2 separate regions of the Homo sapiens genome follow, and region 2 is linked to region 1. The links are contacts of gene promoters, found by promoter capture Hi-C in human tissues and cell types (Jung and others, 2019). All regions are on one chromosome and are shown on one strand. Each heading gives the region's core, a stretch centred on a gene start or on the middle of the fragment in contact. The rest is flanking DNA. Distances are from core to core; before and after follow the strand shown. Region 1 holds the start of PPP3R2 (protein phosphatase 3 regulatory subunit B, beta). Region 2 has its middle 53 kb from the start of GRIN3A.

Evidence for each region. Contacts are between HindIII fragments. The study calls those that stand out against the background at their distance.
Region 2: a contact is called between a fragment that was not itself captured here and the fragment with the promoter of PPP3R2 in region 1, in 1 of the 25 tissues and cell types used here (thymus).

The regions. Positions count from the first base shown.
Region 1 is chr9:101,590,921-101,598,111 of GRCh38, forward strand. It overlaps PPP3R2 (protein phosphatase 3 regulatory subunit B, beta), which reads right to left and starts at 4,049. Exons shown (of 1, transcript NM_147180.4): 1 at 684-4,049. The coding sequence starts at 4,001. The coding sequence ends at 3,489. The region is part of intron 6 of GRIN3A (glutamate ionotropic receptor NMDA type subunit 3A); the gene reads right to left. It overlaps LOC105376186 (a long non-coding RNA gene), which reads left to right and starts at 4,054. Exons shown (of 3, transcript XR_001746863.2): 1 at 4,054-4,168; 2 at 4,423-4,588; 3 at 4,677-4,895. The HindIII fragment of the contact is 7,456 bases long and covers 467-7,191 here.
Region 2 is chr9:101,787,975-101,795,165 of GRCh38, forward strand. It overlaps the pseudogene MTND3P4. Among named protein-coding and RNA genes, the nearest start is that of GRIN3A, 53 kb to the left of the region's middle. The HindIII fragment of the contact is 4,162 bases long and covers 920-5,081 here.

The sequences.
Region 1 (7,191 bases), core at 2,799-5,298:
TTTCCTTGAGAATGTTTCTAAAGCATGAGAGAATATACACCAAAGCTAAATTGAATTTGCTGAGGCCATATTTTTTTCTCTGTTTCAAAAAGAGTGTCTAGTGGTCTGGGGATTGCAACATATGGTACAGAGCAGACATAATCCAATTAACATAGGATTCATAACAACATATTGTGACTGATCTCTATAGCCTCAGAGCATATTGGTTTGCGTTATCGGTTTAATCTAAATATTGTCACCTGTTTCTCAAGATGAGCCAAAGGTGGAACATGGCTTAAAACTGTCTCGTCTAACATATCTGTTTCATTGCAATGCATAGAACCAAAGAGGTGGAGGCTGCTTGTTCTTTGACAAGCAATTTACCTCTTTGGGCTTCAGTTTCATCATTTATGAAAACTGAGGCTTGATTTGATGACATGGTTAAGACTATAATAAATAATTTGTAACAGGTAGATATAGGAGCTATAAAAATAAGATAAATGCAGAGAGGTAGAAATAAAGCTCAGGATTTGGGGTCAGAAAGCCTGGTTCAAATCCATGCTTTGCCACTTACCAGCTGGGCGACTTTGGAGAAGATGCTAGATCTCTACATGGCATCATCTGTAATGCTGAAATAATGGCACCAGACTCACAGTGTTGTTATGATGATTAAATGATATGTATAACAAAGGTTATATCAAAAGTTATGGGACAATTGCTCAATAAATGTTTATTATCATCATCCCAAGAAACTGTATAGAACTAGATTTGTTGGCAACTGGCAATTAACTGACAGGAAAAACAAAGCATTCCGATTTGGGAATAAATGTGATTCTTTTAACCCAAATATCCAGTTAGATCTTTCAAGTGCTAAATCCAGATACAGGCTCTCAGTTCAAGGTCATTGCCACAAAGCCTTAGGTAACTATCTTGAGTAGATTTATTGAACAATTAGCTTGTAAATTCCAGCCACTCCAGAAACTGAAACACATTTCCTCTCTTTGTTAAATGTGAGCATGTAATCCAATATGTTTCAAGCCCTTGGTCATAATTTTAAAATTTCCATATTTTAATGTGCACATTGCAGGGTGTATAAATAATGCCTCTCTTTAATGACAATAATGTCCTCTTGGCTAGCATGACATGTGCTCACTTCCTCCATGTAAAATTCCTCCACAAAAAGTTAAATAGGTTGGGCTGGAATGAGAGATTTTGTTTTAAAAATTCTCCAGTTCTCAGGTCAGAAAGTCTGTTGTCCCCTCTGCAAATGAAGGAGTGGTGAGGACCTTGAAATTGTTCCCATTGTTTTCTCTCTGGGCTTGGACATGGGCTGTACACTAATGTCCAGTTAATTTTAGAGTGGGTGTAGCTAAGAACTAAGTAAGTGTTCAAAAGCAACCAGTAAGCCTCATGTCTCCTTTACATATTGATCTTGTAGAAGGGGAAGAAGGGGGAAGGGAAGGGAATTAGTTGAATGAAAGTGGAATTGTGCTCCAGGTGTGTTGCATGCCTTTTTGAATCCTCAAAATAACCCTGGGGTGGATCCTCTTTAATTAGGTGGAAAGACACAGAGAGGCTAAGTAAATTATTCATGCTCACACAGCTAAAAAGAAGTGAGTGTGATAACAACCCAGTTGCAACTGAATCCAAACCCAGGTGTGTCTGAATCTTTGAACATTACATAACCCTGATCACCACAGGGTTGGGAGCGTTTATCACAGTTTTTAGGGTTGAACAGGAATTGAAGGGGTAAGGATTCCTATTTTTGTGGTTTCTAAGTAATCTATTAAATACAAAAGTATATGGTAGGGTACCTTGATAGATGGGTTCCCTACAAGTGATTAAATTTGTGGACTTTTTTTTTTTTTTTCTATTTTGGTCAAGACCAGTTGCCAGCTTCTTCCAAATAAAATAGCAGTAAATCTCCTTGAAACAGATCTTCCATGTCCTGAAAAAAGTTACCTGAGTGGTATCTCTTGGCTAAGCAAGTGTAGGGAGAGTATGTTTCATTGTTCTGCTGTTTTGAGAGCCTTAAGCATCTTATATGGGAAGTGGTTCTCTGTGAGAAAGAGGATTGGTATGGAGGCACAGATGCTGGGACAAGTCCTAGCCCTGCTCTTCTGAGGACAGTTCATGCTCTGAGAACTCACAATAGTATGTGGGACACCTCAGGGAGCTGGTAACATTTGGGGTACAGGCAGTGATGTATTTACTGGTAAACAAATTCTCCAAAACAAAACAAAAACAACTAAAAGCTTTTGTTCTTTTCTCACCATGGCTGATCTAAAGCTACCAACATGACATAAATGCGTGGGAAGAGACACATGCATTCTGGATCTCCCCTGGAACCACAGGCTCCGGCTCACCCAATGGTGGAGATCTGTTAGTGTGTGAGGACTTCTGCACTGAATGTTCCACTAGGGAAAAGGCTTCCTGGAATGAGAGAGCTCTCAGTTTCTCTTCTAGGCCTCAGATCTGATTTTCAAAATCAGCATAGCTGGTGTAGCTAGCATCCACCTCTGCTGTGGAGACACAATTGTCAGTCTCTGCATCTGTGAGCAACAGACATAATGCCACTTTGGCATCCTAGGGAGATTCCACTGCAGCCTGACTCTACTGCCTCTCCTCCGTAGGACAACTAACTAAATGTCTCATTGTCTCCACCTGGGGGTAGGGACCAGTGTCGGAGGTGAGAGCACTTTCTGGGAGAACACTTTGCTTGCCCTATTTAGCTGGAGGTCCCCTTCATTGAAATTAATGCTGGTGTGGGCTGCCAACCCTGGAAACCCACTGCTAATGAGGATGATGGCTGAGCTGGGCACTTAGTCCAGGCTTAGCATTTCCTATAAGAGCCCTGAAGCTAGTTTCTGTTCAGGAGCTGGAGCAACAAGTCAGGAGGAGGCCAAATGAACTCCTACCCCTCAAACATGCACAGCGATTTCTGGATGCATTGTGGGGAATGGGGCTGCAATCTGCCGAAGGAAAAGATGGGATTCTGTCCCCTAAGAAAAGTGATTACGAGATGCCCAGCAAAGACAAATATATTTGTCCCTGTTGCTACAATAGGAAGTTAACAATCTGGCAAGATATCTGAACACAAGCAAATGAAAACAGTTCACCTAACACCCATGCAAATTATAAATTTCCTCCCATATACAAAATGATGAGAAATAACAGCAAAAATGTATACTTTCTTATTTTTGAACTTTTAAAGTTCTAGTTTGGTCTTTGAATCAAAACAAAGTAAAAGATGTTTATAAAAGCCATTTCCTTTTCTTTCCCCACTATGCTCATTTGACTTGCTCTTCCCCCTATAGGGTACCCTGAGTCATTCAGAGAAGGAGAATTAATAGCACTGAGTTGGTGATGAAGCTCCTGTTAGGACATATGGCTTCACAAAAAGAAATACTTCCAGATAAGTCAGAGAGACAGTTGGACGTCTTGAGCAAATCTTGAAAGAGATAGGGAAGAAAGCAGAAGTTGTTGGGTGGTGCTTGTAAGAAAAAGGCTCATACGATGAGGACCAGCTTCTTGTGGATCTCCAGGTCTCTGACCACAGCACTGAATTCCTCAAAGGATATCTTCCCATCGCCATCCTTGTCCAGGATGATGATGGTTTTGTCGACCAGCTGCTGGAGCTGCCAGTCCGTCAGGTTGTTGCCCACCATCATCTTCAGCACCTGGAAGAGCTCCCCGTTGGAAATGTAGCCATCTTTATCCATGTCGTAAATGCTGAACGCAAACCTCAACTTCTGCTCCTCGTCGCCCTTGACGCTGAACTGGGAGGTCCCCAGGATGAATTCCTTGAAGTCCACTTCTCCATCACCGTCGGTGTCGAAGACGTCGATCACTCGCCGCACCAACGGGTTGTGGCGCAGCTCCGGCAGGGACATGAACTCCTCCACGCTCAGAGACCCTGATTTGTCCAAGTCCAACTTCTTAAACCTCCTGCCCAGCCTTTTAATTTCATCATTGTCAAAGTGGGAGCACATCTCCGCCGGGTAACTGGCCTCGTTTCCCATTGTGGACATCTGGCAACGGCCACGGCTCAAAGGGTCGGAGAGGGGAGCAGGGGCGGTGAGCTCGGGCGGGGCTCGTGCCCGGACGGTTGGGCCATGGGGTGGGGGTAGAGGGCTCCCGGGGGCCCTGGTCGAGCAAAAGGGCAGGGGAGCGGAGGGAGGGGCGGCAGGTCAGAGAGGGAGCGGAGAGAGGAGGGAAAGAAGGAGGGAAAAGGGGGCGGAAGGGGAGGTGGGTGCTGTCTGGGCAGGAGTATAGGGAGGAGAGAATGGAGCCTGGGGGTGCCCGGGAGAGGCAGAGGTGGAAAGCTGGGCTGCCCCTTCTCTTTTTCCTTCTCTCAAACTCCTTGTACCTTTCCATGATAACCCCAATTTCCCTGGCAATTATTTTATCTACTTATTTCTTTTTTTTTTTTCTCTGAGAAAGTAAACCCCAAAGGAGAAGGGATCGCACCTGTGTTATTCGCTGCAGTATCCCAGAAGCACAGTGCTTCACAGGCAATATGTGCTTAATAAATATACGCCGAATGACTGAACTGCAACCAAGGACACTGTATACTTGCTTTACAGACCTAGTGTAAGGATGAAACAAGGTGACACATCAAGGCATTGATATAGTATGTTTTCCACGATTCCCTGGGAGGGGAAGCCGGGATTGACATCCTTCTGTACCTTTTTCAGGACGTAGGATTCAGAGTGTTTGTAAGAGACCAGGCAGATACCGCGCAGAATTTCTTACATGGATCACCTACAGGCACTAACATATTCCCGAGGAATATAAACAATGCTGAATTCAGGGCGTTTTTCAAGATGACACAGGTCTCAAGAACACAACCTCTGTTACTCTGTTCCCTCTTATCCATCATCTCATGCCCGAGTCACATCTTTGTTGTTGGTGCCTGGCGGCTATTCTGCAGAATACCTTGGGGGAAGGTCTGCAATGTGCCCAAAGAAGCCTTTTGTGTGTGTTGAGAGTGACAGTCGCCTCTGGATGATCTCACTTTTCTCCTTTTGTTTCAACTAGATTTGTTCTTTCTGTTGAAGACTAATCTCACATGCTCCCTCTTATTCCTTCTTCCTTTCGGAGCGCATCAATTACTCCAAATGCATAAGAAACAAATGTGGTTCAAGAGCAAACAGTTCAAAGGGACTTGGGGGAACCTCAGGCCACTACATCAAACTGAAAGATGCAAACACTCCTTCGCTTTAAAAAATGTTGGCAAGTTCTGTGTTCTATAGTTCAGCCAAAATATCAGTCTAAAGATAACCATGCTGGAACTAGCAAAACTAAGCCACTGATCACCTTATCATTAAGTCTGGCCATTTTACTTTCCTCTATAAACAAATGATAATCCATGGATATGTTTTAAAGCTGATTATGGGCATTACACAAATGAAACCCCCTTTCCCAATTAGACTGTTATATTGGAATGTTTTTTTGTTTCATTTATTTGCTTGCTTTTCAGTTATTCAGAGAAATGAGCATGGTACAGTTTGCATATAAGCCTATTGAATTTGCAATATTAAGGATACCACCTTAAATTATATTACAAGATGCCTAAAATCAGTGTTGGTCTCTAAATGATACCAACCACTATAGCCTGTGTTCTTTCTAAAGCACAAAGACCTTTCTGGACTCTCTGGGGGAAATATCCAGGCCCTGCAGGTGCAGTTCTGAAAAAATCAGAAACCTCAGGGGCAAGGACAGAACTCTATCTTTTGGGCATGCACTGGGGCTGGGAGCCTCTAGAATTGTGTTATTTCTCTCATCTTGTGTCTTTGACCACAGTGTAGTCCAGTTTCTTGGCTGCAAGTAAAAGAATCTACCTCTAAGAAGCTTAACATGAAAGATAATTTGTTGGAAGAATCTCACATAATCTAAAGAAGAGCTGAATGATTCAGTCTTAGGAAGGGTGAGGATCCCACTGGGTTTAAGGAAATATTGGAACCAACGCCTCAGGACCAGTTATGTAATTTGCAGTGTCCTTTGTTTGAAAATGATTGAGAGCTTCAAGATGGCCACAGCAGAACATTAAACCAAGTACGGGACCTTATGAGACTGCGTGGGCCACATGCCCATGAAGCTGGCCCTGCAAGGAGTTGGGCCCATTGACCTCTCTGTGCCTTTCACCTCTGCTTCTCTTTCCTTCACTCTCTCCTATGGTAAAGCAATTCTTCCACATTGCAGAGGACACAACCACTGACAGATTCCAAGTTAAGACTTTGGGGATTTTATCATCAGAAAAGACGGACTTTTCCCTGTTCTAGTTAGATGCCCATAAATCCCATGAACAGGCTCTGATTGGTCTCACTTGGGTTGGGTTCCCACCTATGAGCCATCAGACATGGCTTATAACATATGGGAGCTTCCATTTGAACCTCATGGATGGAGCTGGTCGGGGGGAAGTGGGGGCTGGGTAGGAAGAGCAGGTACCAAAAGAAGCACATGCTCTTCCTTATAAGAACAGGGTAATGCTGAGCAGACAGAACAACAGATGGACATTAGACAGGTCCATTAGTGCTGACTCTATAGGAGAGAGGAAGCATTTTGAACTCCCTTCAGTTTTGCCAACTGAATAGGCCACAGATCCTGCTATAGTTACAGGCCTCCACTAGCTCATTCATTAGTGCCAGGTCCATCTTATTATTTGCTAAAATATCCCTTCACCTCTGTGTAGATAGAATTGGTATCTCACTTGCAGACACTCTTGTGTTTACAAACTGTGGGTTACAACACATTAGTGAGTGATGAAGTTGGTTTAGTGAGTTACAAACAACATCAAAAAAATAGAACAGCAGATAATTGAAGAGAAAGTATCATCTGTAAGGGGAAGTACTATTACTTCATAAAGTTGTTTATAAAGTTGTAAAAAGTTTACTTCATAAAGTTGTAAAACTAAATATAGTATATATATGATAAAGGAATACCAGGTCATTCTGGGTTTGCAATATGACATATTTTCTTGCTTGGATTATGGTAAAAAATAAAGACAGTCTGACATATACTATAGAACATAGTGTTTTGATATCTTATGTTATAGGCTCATGAGCCATGAGAATAATTCAACAGCAAAAACATTTTCATACTGGTTGGTTCTCTGTGAGATCAGTATGTGGGGATAAAGTAGATGAATCTTGGAATAATAATCTATAGCAGTGCTGTCTAATTATATATGTACTTTTAAATTTTTAGTAA
Region 2 (7,191 bases), core at 1,751-4,250, 200 kb after region 1:
ATAGTGGTGACCTTATTTTTTCTAGTGTGTTATTCATTTTCAGCTCAGAGCCAAACTTGAAGTCCCTCTTCCTGCCAAAAAGAAGTGGGATAACCCCCTGTCCATCACACAGCAGAGCAGAATACTGATTCTGCAGAACATAGGCAGTCAGCCAAAGAATAAAGAAACAGAGAACAGAATCTGCTCAGCCATGCTAGGAGGAACCAAAATGAACTCCCATGGAAAAAATCTGTAGAAGACATTTATTAGATGGTATTGGAAGGTTTATAAGCACTCTCATACTTAAGGTGAAGTTCTATCAGGTAGAGAATGAAGCTATAGTTTTTCTGCAATTAGTAATAGGTATGCTGATGGAAGGCAGTATCATTCAATTACAGGCTAGTATGAGTCAGTAATGGAGCTGGACACACAGACTAGAATCAGCCACAAGTGAATGAATGAGCAAAATCTAGAATAGACTAGAATAGAAAATCTCTTAGTCAAACCAGGTGAAGAGTTTTCCTAGTTCATTAGAAAAATGAATGTGCAAATTAATATTCATTTATTTAATCATTCAGTATATATATTTTCTGAGCATTCTTGGTCTAGATGCTAAGAGAAAATTGAACAAAGCAGATATGGTTCTTACCTTTTTTGGAGATACTGTCTAAGGAAGGAGGCAGATTAATACAATGATCAAAATACAAATGTGAAATCACAACTGTGAAAAGTCCTTTCATCCTAGAGCATTTGCTCCAGCTGTCCCCTCTGCCTGGAACATGCTTCCCCAGCTGTCTGTTTAATTCTTTCACCTTTTTCAAGTGATTGCTCAAATTTTATCTTCCAAATAAAGCTTACCTTGATCACTCTATTAATACTACAGCCTTACACTTTTCCCTTAATGGCACTCTGAATTCCTCTGCCCTACACTACTTTTTTTGCATAAAATTTATCATCTTTTAACATCTGATGTGATTTACTAATTTACAAACCTATTGGTATTATCTGTCCACTGCTAGAATATAAGCTTCTTGAAGACAGTGACCTGTGTTGTTTCATTAGGTTCACATTCCAAGTACCTAGGACAGTGTCCAACACACAGGAGATGCTCAATATTCATTAAAGGAGTGAACAAGTGAGGTCACAAGAGTCTATCAAAATATCTTGCAGTGGTCAAAATAGTAAAAGTTGTAATAAATTACTATACATAACTTCACAGTAAAATGTATATTGTTTTCTTTTCATGTAATTCACTGAGGTTTTCAATTTTCTCCATTAATTTTTTCATGAAGTTCCAAGAATCATAAAACAAACAAACAAACAAACAAACAATAAAACAAGACAATACCTATCTGACTCTTCATTTCAATTCTGATCCTCACATTGTGCCAACCAGGAAAGTGGCTTCCTTGCAGAATGTCACTTTAACATGATTTATTTTTATCTGAGGGTGCCACATGTTACACACATTTAACATTACATACCTAGATGTATATGACATGGGATAGTATACTTTGTTTTCACAATGTATCACAATGCTTCCTTGGCCTCTGATGTCTCAGTTCTTTTGTGCTATTCATCTTTTCACATCTAAAATTTTACTACAATACTTAACTTTCTTGATCTTCTCCATTATTATTTTCATAAAATTGTAATTTATGAAACATTTCCATGGTTTACAGAGGAGAATATTTGAAATCACAATTGTCCTGGAAAATGTAGGTTATATGAGCACAATCCCTGCAAAGGATCTGCAACATAGAGTTAAGCATTGATTATATGCTAGCATCTGGGGTTTTAAAAAATGAGAGGACATAGAGGATCCTCAAAGAGTTGCTTGGCTCTATTAGCCTTGGAATTGAGCCATTAGAAATGCTTCACTGCAGCCTAAATTCTGGGCCAGTCATGTGTAAGTGTTGTCATAATTTAAGGAGCCTGGTGAAGCTAACATTTTTTTTCCTTCTTCTCTGCTGGTCCCCTTGGGAATTACCTATATTCTGCAGAAATCAAACCTACATGCAACTGGTTATCTTTATGCACACAAATGGGGTTCATTGACATAGGTTTCCTTAAAAACCCCATCCTTCACCCCCAGACACTTAATAAGAAAGTCCTTTAACCTTAGATACAAGTAGAATTATACGTGTTTCATGAAATTTGTCGTTGTCATTGGATCCTGTCACACAGTGGTTTGGCATGAATGGGGCATATTGGTGTTGAGAGGATGAGAGATGAGGTTGGAGAGTTAATGAGGAACCAAATCAGAAGAGTATGTTATGCTACGCTGGGGCCTGTGAACTTTATCCTGAGGGTAGAAGGGTTCCACTAAGCATTTTATTTCATTGTTTTTAAAAATCAGGGTAATGATATAAGCAGATGCATATTTGGACAGTCAGGATGGATGCAGTGTGAAGAATGGATTGAAGGGGTGGCAGGAGGAGGTGCAGGACAGTGAACTTGAGGAATAAAATGGTGACAAGTTAGAAAAAGGGCAAATGGAGAAGGAAGTATAGAAATTGCCTTGAGGTGGGTGTGCGGAGAAACTGGAGAAGGGAGTAAGAGAAGAAACCTGTATTTCTGGCTTGAGCATTTAGGTATCACTCTCAAAGCAAATAACTCACTTGGGGAAAAGATGATGAATTCATCTGTGGACGCATTGAATTTAGATGTCTGTGAGTCATCAAAAAGTATCTATTTAGACGGTTAGGTATTCATCTCTGGAGCCCATGAGAGATATTTGGATGAGATAAAGATTCGGTATTTATTAGCACATAGATGTTAATTGAATCCACAGTTAACTGAGACAGTATTTACCAAGGAGACGGTGTGGAGTGAGAGGAAAAGAAGTCAACATTTGGTTTGCTAATACAGGGACATATAGAGAAGAAAATCCTGTAATGAGATTGAGATGGAGATGCCAGAGAGTAGGAGGAAAACCAGAAGAGTTCATGTTCATAACCAATGAACTCATTAGAGCTCCCATCATTTGTATGGATCTTGAGTTTCCCAGGCAAGAACAGAGTGGAGAGGTGGATAGTTATTGCCAAGGTCTTTAAAGAAGTAGGAGAAGTAGATTATGTTGACTCATAGCGACTAGGAGAAGAGAGTGTGCTATGACTTGATGGCACATTCTTCACGGTGGTAATAATGAAGAGCTTGCAGCATGAGAAAATGAGAAACTTTTTGAGAGGACTGCAGAAAAAACAGTATTTTGAGAGGAGAAACAAACTTAAAGGCATGAAATGGGTGAAGAAAACAGAGGACTGGATACAGAGGATTTTTTTTACTTAGGATTTGACATAGTGAAAAGTTTGGGATAGAGGGTAGCAATAGGTGACTGTGTTAAGCAAAAGCAGCACAGAATATTGTGGTTGCTGACATGGGAGATGATAGCAAACCAGAAGGTTTTCCTTGGGTACTGTCTAAAGATAGCAGGGATTTGGAGTAGGTGGGTTTATCTGTTGGTAAAGTTGCTAGATAATCAGTCTTGGCTCTAACCTGTATGTGGCTAGAGTTCTTGTGTTTCTTATGGCATTATCTTTGCCCAATAGTCCTAGTCTTTGATAGATGAGTAGGTCTAGAGGTGAGATAAACAGCCCAAGGTCTGGTTTGAGGGCGTGACCTACATGAGGGACGCAATTTTCTCCAGAGTGGCAAATAAATGTTGGGTTCTATGTGCCAACCCTTGAACTACATGGAACACGTTTCATCTCAATTTTCAGATCACAATCTGAGGTCTGAAGCTTTTCTTGTCCCTTAAGTCATAGTTACGTAATCCTTTTAAGTGCTTCTATAGTATCATAAAATTTCCTCATCACAGCACTTGTCAAGATATATTATTTCTAGTTTATATAGCTATATCTTCCACTAAGCCATACTATTTAATGGACATGAATTTTCTCATCCGCTGATATATTTCAAAAATCCAGCACAGTGACTGACATATTTCCACACACACACATACCCACACACGTATATACATATATATTTTTGAAGTATGTGGGTGGAGCTGGAATATCCTGCAGGGAATGCACCTTCTATCTGAGGAACTGTTGTGTGACTGTGCTCAGGGGACATGTTTTACAGTAAGGTGAAAGTTTGCCTGGCTCAGGGTCTAGGGAGATGCATGGAGCAGAGGGGTTGCGGGTCTTGTCAGCAGCTCGCATGGATTATGGTCAAAAGAGGGCAGCAGAGGGTCACAGACGAGAGGTGATTTTAAGTGGTGCAGAAGAGTGGGTGGAAGAGAATACAAAATCAGGAGTGAGAGTTTTGGGTGCCAGGGATAAGGGTGGTGCTCTTTATAGAAGCTAATCCTGTTGGGGGGAGGTTTAGTAAGGAGAGAGCTGGGGAATCCCCAGGTGTAAAGAGGATGCTTAAAGGAAAACTAGAATATTAAAACCAAGGAATGAAGCAACCCTCCGTCCTGCTTGTTATGTAGCAGATATCAGAGTTTGACCTTGAAAGTGTGGTCTGCCATTCATAGGAAGGAGGGATAAAAGATGCGGAAGTTTAGTGGAGTGGTATACAAGAGAGATGTGCCCAGGAAATCCTGGAAAGTTTGCCTCTTAGAAGTAGATTGAATCTGTCTGTTCTGAATGGTCCAAAGAGAGACAAATGGCCTCATGAGTGGGGAGGCAGGGAGAGCAATTTCAATTCTAAACAAGAACTCTTTACTTCTCTAGTCTTGTCTCATGCTACTCTCCTCCTTTGTGAACTCTGCTGTAGTCATTACTGGCTTCCTTTCACTTCCTTAAACAATTTTCTGTTACTTCACTATTAGCATGGTTGGATTTTTGTCATCCTTCAGATCTTGATGTAAATGCTATTTCTGAAGAGAGTTTTTTTCTAACTATCCTTTGCTCTTCACTCTAAACACCCATTACCGTTTATATTTACGGTTTTTCTCTTGTTTATCGTCTGCCTCCTCCTGGAGAGTAAGGAACATGTGTGTTGTACTCTCCAGGGAATATCCAGCATCTAGTATCATATCCAACTTGTGATAGTGGTTTCATAAGTATTTTCTGGACAAATATACTGAACAAGTTGCCCTTGGAGGGAGGAAGTTGCCTGTGATGGAAGGTATTTAATATGGACTGGACATGCAGTTGTCAAGATGCTGTATAATATTCAAGGATCAGATAGATTGTTACTGAAATGACATTTAAAGTTGCTTTCTGTCATTCCATTCTATTATTCCAACAAATGAAGAGTATAAAATTAATGACTCTAAAATGGAGGCAATAATGGCTCCATTGCTCATCAATATGAACAGAAAAGAGAATAAATGTGGCTAATTAGAAGGTAATGAAGATCTTACCTACTCATTAATAAAAGTAGAAAGTGTAATTTGTAAGGAATCTGAACCTTAAATAAATCAGTAGACTTGGGTAACTTTCTAGGGAAATATTTAGGTGCTAATCCAAAAGCAGATTTGAAAATAGCTACCTTATTCTCTTCGTATTTTTAATAACTAGCACATTATCTGGCACATAATAAATGAACCTAGGATTAAAATGGTAACTAATATAAGGGCTGTGCTGATTATTAGTGTCAGGTTGGTTGTTTGAAGGGCTCATGGCAGCGGTAGTAGTAGAGTGATCTCTAAGTCGAACAAGAGGAACATGATGGCTACTAGGAAGAATTTTATGGAAAAGGGGAGGTGGGCGGAAGTTATTGGGTCGAATCCGCATTCATAGGGGTCAGATTTTTCTATATAAATATTAAGTTGTGGGAGCCAAAATGTTATTATTATTAGTAATAGGGCCAGTAAGGTGTCGGTTATTCAGGCTAGTGTCAGGTTGATTACTCTCTTTTGAATATTATCAAAACTAATTGATTGGAAGTCAATGGTACTGTTTATACTTCAAGAGTAGGATCCTCCTCAGCAGATAGAGAGGTATAAGAATAGTCATACTACATCTACAGATAACTATTTGCTCAATAAATAAATAAATAAATAAATAAATAAATAAATAAGTGAACTTTTGGAAACCGCATCCCTACACTTTCATAAACCTTTCCAGGTATAGAGTCTGCATTAGAGTATTCCCTCTGCTCAGTATCATTTGCCCTTTTTATAGCTTAACACCTTCCCGTAGACAGTATATTTACCATGTTACCAAAGGGAGGAGAAAATGATGCAGGAATGAAGATAGTCATGCTCCTCATTGCTGCATATAGACGCAGGATTGCTGAAAACATTTTTAGTTTTTTGAAATTTTTTATGAGTTGCTTTTACGCTTTGTTAAAATTGATATTTAAATAAATGCCATAAAAACTAATGCTCATTAAGATGATAGACATGGTTTGGATAAGTAACTTTCCTTCAAGTTTTTTTAGCATACATGTATCACCAAATGTGAAATCTTAATAATAAAATATATATATATTTTAGTATTATCTATTGAGATAGACAGACTTTAAGATGGCCCCCATGATTCCCATCTCCTGGTGTTCATAAGCTTGCATAATCCTCTCCTGTGTATGAGTGGGATTTGTGACTTGCTTCTCACTAATAGCATGTGGTAAAAATGATGGGATGCACTCCTGTTATTATGTTGTTATATAAGAATTCGTCTTGCTAATAGGCTTGCTGTACAGTCTGTCCCTTGTTTACTAGCTTTGAAAAAGCGAATTTCCATAAATCCTGCAGGCACAAGTAAACGAATTCTGTCAGCAACCTGAGGGAGCACAGAAGAAGATCATCCCCAGTCAAGCCTCCAGATGAGAACCATGTTTTGGCTGACATCCTGTTTGCAGCCTTGCAGATAACTCAACTGAAAAATACTCAAGATTCTTGATTCACAGAAATTGTGAGATAATAAATGTGTGTTTTTTTAAGTCACCAGGTTTGTGGTATTTTGCTATGAAGCATTGACAACTAATATAGCTGTGAGCACATAGAGCAAAGTATACAGCAAAACCCTAAAAGAGCTATTTAGTTATGCTTCATAGCAACAAAGAAACAGTACTGTATCCCATTATAATATCTGAAATACATGATTTCTACACCTCTGTTCCATGTTAAATCATTACTAAAGTTGTTGGATGGTCTATTTTCTAGGATTATTCACACCTGATGGCTATGTCTTTCCCTAAATTTCTTATTGTCTGACAGTTGTCTCAGATTGCTACACAAACAGATATGGAGTTATTAGCCATTTGCCATGAGTCAGACTATGTGATAGGCATTTTTATTGCAATTTGTTAATT